Linked DNA regions of Homo sapiens: region 2 is linked to region 1. The links are contacts of gene promoters, found by promoter capture Hi-C in blood cells and fetal thymus (Javierre and others, 2016). All regions are on one chromosome and are shown on one strand. Each heading gives the region's core, a stretch centred on a gene start or on the middle of the fragment in contact. The rest is flanking DNA. Distances are from core to core; before and after follow the strand shown. Region 1 holds the start of GNRHR (gonadotropin releasing hormone receptor). Region 2 has its middle 27 kb from the start of YTHDC1.

Region 1 (6,579 bases), core at 1,612-4,111:
ACTATTACATGAAATTCCTAAACAATTCAAAGTTAAGTTCCTATTTTCTTTTTGCTACATCAAGTTAGATAAATATTTGGCATTATCTTTCTATTATTGCTGTTAATACTTAGATGAAAATAATTGGATTGATAAAGCAATATTTTATTTATAGCTTCTAGGAGACTTCTTCTAAGAAGAATCAAATCGTGAGTTTGCCCTTCAGTTATTATTGCAGATAGGATTATTTCTACTTTGGTTTGGATTTTAATCTACATCAGCACCTCAAATTACCAACTACTTTACACATAGTTGTAATTACACAGATCTTATATTGCCAACAGTCATGTCCTAAAGCAAATGATTTTACTTCTCATAGCCTGCCTTCCCTCTCCCTTCTACAAACAAACAGGCAGACAAACAAACACTCCCCTTCCCACCGGATCATTTCAATGGTTTTACTATTTTAATTCCTAGGCTAAAAAAATTGGAACTTTATTTCCCCCTGCTCTATTATTAACTCTCTCAATCCAATTTGTTGTCAGGTTTTGTATTTTATTTGAAATGTCTCTTTTACTATCTATTCTCTTTGATACCACCCTAGCCCCCTGATCACCTCATTGCCAGATGATTTTTAAAAAAGTCTTTGTTTTATTCCACTCCATTTGGGCCATTTGGGCCTACATAAATTTTCCCAAAGCCTTTTTTTTTTCTTTTTTGAGACAGGTTCTCATTCTGTCACCGAGATTGCAGTGCAGTTGCAGTGATGCATCATGGCTCTCTGCAACCTCTGCCTCCCAGGCTCAAGCGATTCTCCCACCTCAGCCTCCCAAGTAGCTGGGACCACAGGTGCGGGTCATCATGACCAGCATTTAAGCAATTTTTTTTTTAATAATTTGTTGATATGGGGCCTCCCTATATTGCCCAGTCTGGTCTCGAACTCCTGGGCTCAAGTGATCCTCCCACCACAACCTCCCTCCCAACCTCCCAGGTAACTTGGACCATAGGTGCAAAAGTGGAAAGAAAGAATGTGGAAAATTTTAAGAGCATAAGCCTTAGCTAAATCACCTCATTTCAGGTGATATATTTGCTAAACTTATTCTTATGTATTGCATCACTGTGAAATAAATCATATATTTTTCTTCAGAAAATGAAAACATTTTAGTTTTTCCCATTATTCTTATTATGAAACACACACATATTCAAAAGAAATATTAAAGTGAGAAATTGATGGGATAAAACAGTTATCCAGCTTTCTAGTGTCTTGTGCTATATAGTGAGTTCTGCATGGCAGTTTTTTTTTGTTGTTGTTGTTTTTTAACCATCTGGTCAGTAAAAAAAAGTCTAGATAAATTTCCATTTTCAGAGGCAAGTTTTGGAGGATCCTAGTTAATTCTGATTTATTTCTTGACACATCCTTGTATCCTGGGTTTATCATGTAGTACATTTAAATGCAAGAGAAAACTTGTTCATCTGCTATTAACATTCTTTGTTATTTTCAAGAATTTGTCCTTTTCTTCGGGGATCTGATTGTTAAAATGGCAGGTTCAGCAGGTCAGTTAACTAGGCTGCTTCTGGTGAAGGCAACCTGGAAAGATAATTGCCCTCTGTGGGGAGGGCCTGTGCCTACTCTGTCAGTCATATGGCTTTCTCAATAAGCTGCCTCCAGCAAAACTCAAGCTAACTTTAGGGAAATATTTGGATTTCCAAACATCCAAGATGTCTTACTTTTCTTCTATATTCAGTCCCACTTAGCTGCAAACTGCAGAGCAACATACTAACAAAGAATAATTCTCTCTAAGCTGCAGTGACAGAATTCTTAAAATTTCCACTGAAGAAACCCTAAATAAGAAACATTATAAATATTTTCTACCTAGGCAAATTTCATAATTCCTAAAAATTATCTCAACTAAACATTAAAGCCATGTCAACCAAAACAAAAAGAAAAACAGATAAAAGAATAGGATGGAGATAAGGTCAAGTTTGAGAATCGCATTTTTTTTGGGGAAGCATTTGCTACATAATAGAGATTATGTGAGCTACTTTATTTATTTATTCATCACAAAAGCAGTATTAAGTAAGCATTAACCCCCATGTTACATTTTATCGGTAAAGGAACTGAAACCAGAGAGGTTAAGAAGTTTGCCCAAGGTAACAGAACAGAGCCAGAATTAAACTTCACTCTCTGACTTCCAGAACCCAAGCTCTTAAAGGTAATACAGTACTTCCTTTGATAAGACCTTATATCAAATTTAGATAGGAAATCTATGATCACCATATCCAAATAAGTTTGTGTATAATGGCTTACCTGTGGTCCTGCAAAGACACTACTGAGGATCCAGGCCAGGCCAACCATGGACTGTCCGACTTTGCTGTTGCTTTTCAAAGCTAGGGGCCTCGTGATAGCCAGGGAGCGGTCCAGGCTGATCACCACCATCATGAAGGCTGGGGCATACATGGAGAAAAGCTTTAGATAACTGAGAACTTTGCAGAGTAACTCTCCAGCATACCATTGGACTGTAATGTTCCACATCCCATCCAGTGGCATGACAATCAGAGTCTCCAACAGGTTGGCTAAGGTCAGATGTTTTAAGAGCAGCTTCATTCTTGAGAGCTTTTTCCCTTTCTCTTTCTTCTGTGTCCACTTCTGAAGTTTCAACAAGAAAGAAGCATTAAAGGTCGCAGAGAGCAGAAAAAGGAAGAAAGTAACCGTCACTCGGATCTTTCCAGACAAGGTCAGAGTGGGGAGGTTGCCCTGCATCAGTGGGATGCTGTTGTTGATGGCTGAACAGTGATTTTGATTCTGTTCAGGAGAGGCACTGTTTGCCATATTTTCCCAGGACAGAGCTTCAAGCCTTGTGTCTCTGGTGCATCTGATATTTTATTGTAACCGAATCTAAAGTCCTGTTTTATTTCTGCCTTCTTTAGATGGAAACGTCACAGGTTTAGACGTATGTCAAATTTTGTCCCTGAGATACTTAATGTGAAAGATCAAGGTTAACTTGTTTTGTGTATTGGTAATCCAACAGAGTGCTAAAACAGAGCAGGCCAAATGCATTCTGAGGGCCACATGTAACTGTAGCACCTCAGCAGATGGTCTGGCTTTCACAACACTCTTCCTAAGTGAAGAAGGATAGTCACAGCCTAATTTTGAATTTAAAAGTCAGTCATGATATTATGATTTAAATAACTTTAAAAAATTTTTCTAAAAACTATTTAGTGTTAGTGTTCTGTCCAACATACAGATGTATAATGATAATGAAGAAAAATGAAAACAACTAGATCCAATTAAAATCCATTGTCTTAAGGAATTAACACATTTCTCAAAAACATTTCTTTGTTTTCCTTTTCAAACACACTGTTGAGCACTCGAACACTGGACAAATATATTCACTTAAAATTATTCTACAACAAATTAAAACTTTAAATTAGAATCAATCCAACTGACTGCATTCAAATTTATTAATCAATCTTACTGATCCAATCCATGCTTAAGTTAGAGTAAAACGGTTAATCAGTTTTTAAATTATTGCCTTGGTTTTTATAATTATCTAAATATTGTAGTTGCTGTTATTACACATTAATGCATAAGGAAACTAGTTATTGAAGAGAATACTGTGTAACTGCTGTAAGTGCATTTATATGTGTTTATGTTAGTATAATATGAATATGTTCTTTTATAGGTTATCTGATCATTTCAAATTGGGACCACTTAGGAACTTTTTCTGTGTTGTTTCTTTAACTTTCATGGTGAGTGCTGGATAGTTATTCATCAATACTGGTAAGACTTACATTGGAATTTATTAAATCACCAGCTTGATTTGTCTAATGCCAACAAGTTTGCTTCTGCAGCAGCCAAAGCAGGTACAATGTTAAGGATAAAAGTGGCTATTTTGACTTAGATGGTGCATTCTTATTGGTTCATTTATTATACTTGTTTATTCTGTCTTAAATATTTATTTATTTAATAAATAGTTACTAAATATTTACTATATACATTATCTTAGCCTTTGCTGGTGATAAAAAGTGAACACAACATCATCCAGCCCCTTTAAGGAGCTTGTTACCACAGAAGGTTAGATAAATGTTTTAGATATATCTTATGTATCTCCTCAGCTTCTCTGTGTACTGGCTGTCTCCTGAATCTTGAGCAGCTTAGACCAGTCCTGTACCTGAGCTCCTTTTTGACTGTCACTATATGTCCAGAATTACCAGCTTCTCTCACTACTTCCAGACTTGAAATATTTATATCCTCTATTTATATAGAGTATCAAGGAAAGAGATTTTCTCACACCTGAGATTTGTGACCATAAAATTTTTACCTACGTCAAAACTAAGTTCTGACTCATCTAGGAGAATTACAAAAAAAAAATTGTGCCTACTATATTAGCTATAATAAGTTCCTTATAAGCAATCAGTCTTGAATAAGATAATTTATTTTTCTGAAGAACTCAAAAGGCTTTGCATATACATCATGTCAGTTAATCTGATCAGGGCCATATGCCTGAAATGAACAAAACAGGATAACCATTGGAAAGACATACAAATATGAAAAGTGTTTGTAAGTGGACCAGCAACCAAAAAACAAAGGAAAGAACATTTATGTAAAAATCCAATTTTAGTGAAGTATATTTTGCTCTTTGTCTTCTATATCTAGGGGAAAAAGATTAGAGCATATCATTCATTATTTGTCCCTTTTCCTCCCATTCCTTCCCTTCCCCTTCCTTCCCTTCCCTTCCCTTCCCCTTCCCTTCCCCTTCCCTTCCCCTTCCTTCCCTTTTCCTCCTTTCATTCCTCTCTTCCTCCCTCCCTCCCTCCCTTTCTTTGTTAATGATGGACTGATTCATTAGGGAAGAGGTTGCAACCGAGCTGAATGGGACTACAGCATATAGCGTAATAAGTGGCTGGGGAATGGGGTATGAGGACAGGGAGGGCATGCTTAGAAGCTGGAGCAGCACATGCAAACACGAAGACAATGTGAGAAAGTTCAAAGGGTATGTGAAAGCAAAAGTGTAAATAATTAGGCAGACTTCAGATCTGGAGAGCCTATATTCCAAGAAAAGGAGTTTAGGCTTTACCTATATAAAGAATGGAGTAATATACTCCTTTCTTTATATATACTTAGTGTATTGTGTAGCATACAGAGAATGCCTTGAAGGGATTTGGGAAATAGTGGGCAATCAAAATTCAGGGAGGTTAATCTATTTGGAAAACCCTTGCTATCAACACAACATGAAAGGTATAAAGCCCTCAAGTGCAGGGTGTGGCTATGAAAGTCGGTAGAGGAAGTAGAGGGCGAATGATGTTTGACGCATTTGAGGAGCTCTAAGTTGTTGAATCTAAGTTGTTGGATGAGTCAACTATATAGATTTTGAAGGTGCTGTCAATACTGATAATATTACTCATAGTTAATATTTATTGGGTACTTACTTTGTGTCGAGCACTTTTCTAAGCATGTTACACGTATTAACACATTTAGACCTTACAACAACCCTAGAAGTCAGTACTATTATTTTCGTCTTATGGTTGAGGAAGGTGAAGCAGAGACATTTACATACCTGATCCATATTAGAGTTTGTCATGGGGGAGCGGTGGCTATCTAGGCCCGAGGTGCAGGGACAAAAGGGTTTACCGTTGTAGGTAAAAGAAAGGCAAATTTGTTAGAGAAGGGAGGAAAATACGTTGCCAGGGAGACAATGGGCAGGATCAGCGGAAGGGAAGCTGACTGCAAAGAAACAAAGGCTTGCTGGAGATTTTATAGGATAGTGTTTATGCTGTATGCTGAAGAGGGCTTTGTGCAGTACTGATAATGCCAAGGTTGCAGTGAGCTAACTTGCAGGTGTCTGGTGATAGTTGGGCATAGGAAGATTGAGAGTTATTTGCACAGGAGGGCTATGTGTCCTTGTAGCTTATCTGCTTTTTCTTTTTGCTTTCCCCTGCTCCCACCAGCCTGACTCCTTTTCCCTAATTAGGACACCACAGAATTGTGTTACATCTCATGCAGTCTGCCTTCAGAGCTCCTGTCTTTAACTACTATGCAATGCTACTTTCTGGTAGCAGTTGGGGTGGAAAGGTCTATGAGCCAGGTGCCATAGTCCTTAGTGAATGAAGGGCCGTGTTAACAGGCCCTTTTAGTTGCAGGAAAGGGAGACTGTTTTAGATAATGGAGTTATCTTTCATGATACACAAGACCTAGAAAGCCAACAGGAGCCCAGGCAGCTCTAAGGATGAGCAACTCCTGCTGATTCATCACCTGAGTTGGTTTTCAATTATAGTATCTTTTTTTTCTTCATAGTGTTTTTCCCATCATCTTCTTGAACCTAACTAGCCAGTTTTTTTTTTTTTTTTTTTGAATTACAAGTCCAACTTCTGAAGGGAAAGAGTGATGATGGTTTAGAAGTGACCCAGGGGAGCAAGAAATATTTTTCATACCTCTTTACTCATGAGAATAAAATAATAGAGGAAGGCAGCTCTTTCAAATAAGAAGAATGTGTATGAAAATGTATTTGGGAAAAAATTTTGTTTCCTGTAAGGAGAGAAGATGGAAGTAGCACAATATCAGAAAAAAAAGAATTTTTTTTTTTTTAGTTTTTGAAAACA
Region 2 (6,579 bases), core at 1,383-3,882, 620 kb after region 1:
TCCAGAATAAATAGGCAGAAAGGAATTTATCACTGGCTGCAAACCATTAGATGGCTTACAAACTGTTTGGAATTGTAGGGGCAGGCGCTGTGTGAGCGTTTAGGAACAACTTCCATTCTCCAGAAATGGCATGGGTAGTCCTGCGATCCAAAGGCAGCAGTGTCAGGTGGAAGCGCTAGAAGCCCGAGGCTGCCATTGGCAGAACAAAGCAGTCTCGGCCTGGCTTGGCAGCATCCAAAAGGACCGCAGCCGCCCTGCCGCTGCACACGGTGCATCTGATTGGCGGAACCCAAACCCTTCCGCAGCCCTCCCTGCGAAGATATCTGGGAAACGTAGTTTTTACCTTCTAACCTCTAAGGCACGGAAAGCTTATTCGATGTTGATTGTAATGGAAATAGAACTATGTATTAGGATTTGTTTAACCATCCCTTGAGTTTTAAATTTTTTGGTTGTTACGTAATTTTCTCTGTAATAAATAAATAAAATTCCCTAAACAATATGAATACTTTTCAAATTTTTGATAATGATTGCAAAATTGCTCTCTTGAAAAGTTATGCCAGTTTATACTCCTTCCAGCAATCTTTGTTCCATATTGTCAGTCATGATTAATACATTTGTCAATGCTTTTGAAAAGGAAAGTGACATATTATTTAAAAACTATGAATTTCTTTGGCTAGTTTGAAGATTTTAATTCTCACCACAAGTGAATTACGATTAGATTTTTTTTTTTTTTTTTGAGATGGAGTCTCACTCTATCACCCAGGCTGGAGTGCAGTGGCCAATCTCTGCTCACCAGCAACCTCCGCCTCCCGGGTTCAAGAGATTCTCGTGCCTCAGCCTCCAGAGTAGCTGGGATTTGAGGCATACGCCACCACACTAGGCTAATTTTTGTATTTTTAGTAGAGATGGGGTTTTTGTCCTATTGGCCAGGCTGGTCTCGAACTCCCGACCTCAGGTGATTCTCTGGCCTCGGCCTCCCAAATTGCTGGGATTATAGGGGTTAGCCCTCGCGCACGGCCGCAATTAAGTCTTTAGACGATCTGTTTCCCCAGTATTTCCCAGCAATGTATTTATGAATCATCTCGCATCTCGCATGGTGAGAAACTTAACATGAACGTTCAACCATGTAAAATTATTACCAGTGAAATAAATAACTTAATGTCTAGTGACCTCTTACTGTAGCTCTGTATTGGTAGATAGACACTTCTTTTTTGATCTTTCAAGTATATAGTAAAAAAAATGTTCCTTTTACAGTTTTCAATTTTTTTTTTTTTTTTTTTTTTTGAGATGGAGTCTCGATCTGTCTCCCAGGCTGGAGCGCAGTGGCCTGATCTCGGCTCACTGCAACATCCGCCTCCCCGGTTGAAGCGATTCTCCTGCCTCGGCTTCCCAAGGAGCTGGGATTACAGGCATGCATCACCACGCCTGGCTAATTTTTGTATTTTCTTTAAATTAGAGACAGGGTTTCACCATGTTGGCCAGGCTATTCTCGAACTCCTGACCTCAAGTGATCTGCCCGCCTCAGACTCCCAGAGTGCTGGGATTACAGGTGTGAGCCACCGCGCCTGGCTAATTTTTCATGTTTTTAGTAGAGACGGGGTTTCTCCATGTTGGCCAAGCTGGTCTCAAACTACTGACCTCAAGTGATCCACCCGCCTTGGCCTCCCAAAGTGCTGGGATTACAGGCGTAAGCCATCGCGCCCTGCCTTGTTTTCAAAATTAAACTTAGTTGAAGCCTGTAAGACTTAAAATGAAAGCAAGATTATGTGACTTGATTATGATGCAGCCAAATGAATTTAGATGCAAATGCTAGACTTGAAATGTAAGTGTACGAATATACAGCAGTATAATTTTATGAGGTCTGGGGGTTACTTGTGCATGAGCCCAGGATTTAGATATCTGGCTACTCACAGTAAGATCCATGGAAGGAAATAAATTCTATAAGGAAGCACTGTATAACTCAAAGAAACTAGAGAGGCCCAAATGTCCAAAGCTGCCATTTCGCTTGCTGGAATTTGCTGGTGGAATAACTACCCTTCCCCGAATTAATGAGGCTAAATGAATTCCTGGGGAACCCTCAGGCTGTCAGTGTAACACCTCCCACATCTTTTTTCTCCAGCAGGTGGCATGTACAGCACCATCCTGAAATGGTGATAACTTTATTATTATTATTGTCACTATTCATGGGGCTAACCATCTTCCCTTTTCTTCCCAAATAAGTACATGGAGTTTTAGCATAGGTATTAAAGAAGGCTCGTCAGCATGATGGCTTAAGTCTGTAATCCCAGCTACTGGGGAGGCTGAGGTGGGAACCGAGGAGTTCAAGGCTACAGTGAGCTATGATCATGCCACTGCACTATAGCCTGAGTGACAGAAGGAGACCCCGTCTGTAAAAACAATTTAAAGAGAGAAAGAGAAAGATAGAGAGAGAGAGAATTCTTGTTTCAATGACCTAGAGGAAAAAAGATGTTATAAGTTCGCTTTTGAAACTGGAACATTAATTTTTCACCATATTAAGACAAGACCCTGTATATACACGTTAAACTTAAACAGCTATCTTTTAGGCTGTTGAATGCAAGAAGGTAAGTTTAAGTACCATCTAGTGGTAGGCATCACCCTCCACCTAGTGGCATCCCTCTCCATCTAGTGGCAAGATAGGCGAATTGAAAGCAAGTGCCAAAGAAGAAATAGTCTGATACTGAAATGTTGAACAAAAGTTTAAAAAGACAACAGTATTGACCACGCCTCCTCCAAGTCCCAGCGAGCCCGTGTACAACCTGTCCCGACTCCAGCCGCCTCTTCAGCTCGCCATGGATCCCAACTGCTCCTGTGCCGCCAGTGACTCCTGCACCTGCGCCGGCTCCTGCAAGTGCAAAGAGTGCAAATGCACCTCCTGCAAGAAAAGCTGCTGCTCCTGCTGTCCTGTGGGCTGTGCCAAGTGTGCCCAGGGCTGCATCTGCAAAGGGGCGTCGGACAAGTGCAGCTGCTGTGCCTGATGCTGGGACAGCCCTGCCCCCAGATGTAAATAACGCGACCTCTACAAACCTGGATTTTTTATGTACAACCCTGACCCTGACGTTTGCTACATTCCTTTTTCTATGAAATAATGTGAATGATAATAAAACAGCTTTGACTTGAAAAAAAAAAAAAAAAGAGAATAGTATTAAAGTACCAGATAAACTTTACCACTGTTTTATTAAATTTTAATATAAATAAACTATGTAAAATAATTCATGATTGTAGCAGGTTATCTAATTTGGAAATAAAAAGAATACTCTTGCTGGATGGTAAACAGACTATTCCTAGCATGAGGTCTTTTCTTGGAATTATTTTATCTTAGTCCTTACCTAGAAGGACTTAGGAAGTGACAAACAGTGCTAAAAACCTGAGAGAAAAGTTAAGACATAGTGACAGAATTTTGCAGGACAAAAGAGTGATATTAGTACAGTCTTTCTTATGTTAAACCTTTTATGATCTTGAAAATCTTATCTTTAAATCTTAAGAAGCTGTTGGATTATACTTTAATCATTGCAGGGAAAAGATTTAGAAATTATGTTGTCAACCAGTTTAGATCAAATTGACATCAGAATTGGGTCTTTAGGAGGAGATTTTTGGTACAATAACTTTGTAATCTGAGGATACTAATCAGGGTATAATAGTACACTTAATTAGTATGATTAGCTGATAGTCTCAAGTTAGGACGACAGTCATTGAGCCCATATCAGGTAGTTAACAGTGAGCATCTATCTGTTCTAATATGTTCAGCATTCTGTTAGGATTAGTTGGTGTCCATGCTGTCCTTGTTATTAAATCATCTGAATATCATCCAAGACCATAAGGGACTGTATGTTCACAGGAAAAAAATAACAAAATCACAAAATGTGAAGAATGTATGTATTATGAAAAGAAGGTAGGCAAACAGATATCTTTAAAAGAGGAAGCTAAAAAAATAAAAATAAAAGAGGAAGCCAAATGAATGGATCAGATAGAAAAAAATGTTCAAAAGTGTAATAATTGTTTTAAAAGGACTAAAAATATTTTTAGAGACCCAAAGGAGGAAATTAGAAACATGAATCAGAAAAATCAGTTATGAAGGACCAACTGGAGATATTCAGTATGAAAAACCTAATAACTGAAATAACTCAGTAAGTATGGTATTAGATAAACCTTATAGATGTTTTTTAGATACTGCTTTTCAGAGTGAACACACTTGAAATACAAATTAGTGAGCTGAAAGATCAGGTCAATCAACTCTTCTAGAAGGACTCAGGAAGGACAAAGCAGTGCTAAAAAACTGAGAGAAAAGGTAAGATACAGTGACAGAATTTTGCAGGACGAAAGAGTGATATTAGTACAGTCTTTCTTCAGTATCTTCAAGGATTGGTTCAAGGACCCACTGCCTTCATAGTAAAATCCAGGAATGCTCAATTCCCTTATATAAAATGGCCTGTTTGCTCATAATCTACATACATCCTCCTGTATACATTCAATTATCTCTATATTACATATGATACCTAATACAATAGGAATGCTATGTAAATAGTTGTTATGCTGCTTTGGTTTTTATTTGTATTTTTTTAATTGTTAATTTGGTTTTTTCTTGAATATTTTCGGTCCCAGGTTGTTTGAATCTGTAAATGCAGAACCTGAAGATACATAGGGCTGAGTGTATTTGATAGAAAGAGGACAGAGAAATTGTTGAAATAAGAGAAATTTGAAGCTAGGATGCTATATCCAATTAATTCAATGTAAGGCTGAAATAAGTTATTGTAAGGTACACAAGGCCTCAGAAGGCTGACAAAAATTCTGTTTGAAAACACTTTGGGAGGATGTGCTCAAGTAAGACAAGGAATCAATCCAGAAGTTAACCAAGAGATGTGAAAAGTGTGGAACAAGTGAAGCTTTGTAACGTGTTTAGATGAAAAACTGCCAGAGGCATCTTTAATATAAACAGCTTCAGGAAGAGAGACACACTGTATTGCTTTCTTTATCCCAGAGATTTTGGAGCGTATACATAGGTGTCATGCATGTCGTATGTATATGTGCGTATTTGTTGGAGGAACAAAGCCCAACCCCCACCCCCGACAAAATCCCATGAGTTTATTTACACATTGTACATGAGAATTTGCGCTATTTCCTATCTTCAGACGTGATATTTAAAATATATAACAATTAGTACAACATAGGGCACTGACCAATCAGAACAGACACCAGCCAAACTGCTAGAGCAGCTTCCTGGATGCTGTGCCCTTCATGTCCGGATTATGAGTACACCTCTGGTGGGCTGGGGCAGAGGCATGGGGCAGGGTCTCAAAGTGGCTTCTATTTACCATGTATATAGGATTGTTTCAATATTTTAACAACTTGTATGGTCATGTATACTGACTGAATAGCAACTCTGCTATGAGACATAAGACATGTTTGATGACTTCATGCAATTTTCTGAAACATGCTCTTTTTTTTTTTAAAATAAACCTTGGGCAGATGTTATGTTAAGACAGTCTCTGTAGTAAAATAATTTGCCATATTGGAGAGGCTTATCATCTTTACAATGAAAGTCAGAAAATATAAGTAAAACATATTAAGTTGTACTAAAGCAGAGAGAATAATCAAATATAATCTTACTCAAGATATTTTCATGACAACTCAGCTTGCAAGATGTTTTCCTAGGCTTACTGGGTCATAAATATTCGGTATCATTTTTTTTCCTATATTTTAAAGAAAAGGAATTTGGAACATGTAAACTATAAATCTAAGTTTTAAAAAATCTAAACAACAGTTTCCTCTCATTGCAGACCTCATTCAAATTGCAGGCTGGAGCCATGCCCAATATGCCTCTTCAGAGCCACAACTACCCACAGGTAGGTGGGCACTTGGTGAGTGAGGATAAAAAGTTTGTTGTTATAAGTCATTGAGTTGTGCAGTTGTTTGTTACACAGCAAATGACATTCCTTTTTTACTTATTCATCATTCATTCAACGTATTCTAAACATATAACTATGAACTATAAAAACTCAAAACTGGCTTTTCTTTTAAAAGATTGACTAGACAAATTTATGTTAAAACTAATCAGGAAAGGAATGGAGATGCAAATAAACAACAGCACCTATGAAGTTTGCATTCTACTATTGAAACAGAAAATACACAAATAAACTGGGAATCCCAAATGGTTCATAAGCAAACGAAGAGTGACTTACCCTTACTCTGTAATCAGAGAACTGCAAATTAAAACAATTGGAAAGTCTGACAATATCATGCAGTGATGAGGATGTTGGGAAATAAGAGACCTCCCATTCAACTTAAGGGAAAGTAAGCTGTTGCAACCATTCCAGGGAGCAACCTGAAAGTACTTGGTAAATTAACTATCTTTATACTTTCTCAATGATGTAGCAATTACACTTCTAGGTCTCTTGCACATGTCCCTAGGAATATTTTTCACAGCAATGTTTGTGGTAGTAAGAATGGAGAAAGTCTAGATGTCCATTGACAGAGGAATGGGAAATAAAATAAGGGATAGACACATAATAAAGTTATATTCAGCACTCAGAAATAATGTTCTAGATTAATATTTATCTGGAT

What was found. The method cuts DNA at HindIII sites, captures the fragments that hold promoters and counts their contacts. A CHiCAGO score of 5 or more calls a contact.
Region 2: a contact is called between a fragment that was not itself captured here and the fragment with the promoter of GNRHR in region 1, in 1 of 17 cell types (neutrophils). The highest score is 5.7, in neutrophils.

The regions. Positions count from the first base shown.
Region 1 is chr4:67,751,527-67,758,105 of GRCh38, forward strand. It overlaps GNRHR (gonadotropin releasing hormone receptor), which reads right to left and starts at 2,862. Exons shown (of 3, transcript NM_000406.3): 1 at 2,288-2,862. The coding sequence starts at 2,809. The HindIII fragment of the contact is 5,914 bases long and covers 2,445-6,579 here.
Region 2 is chr4:68,373,513-68,380,091 of GRCh38, forward strand. It overlaps the pseudogene MT2P1. Among named protein-coding and RNA genes, the nearest start is that of YTHDC1, 27 kb to the left of the region's middle. The HindIII fragment of the contact is 4,533 bases long and covers 367-4,899 here.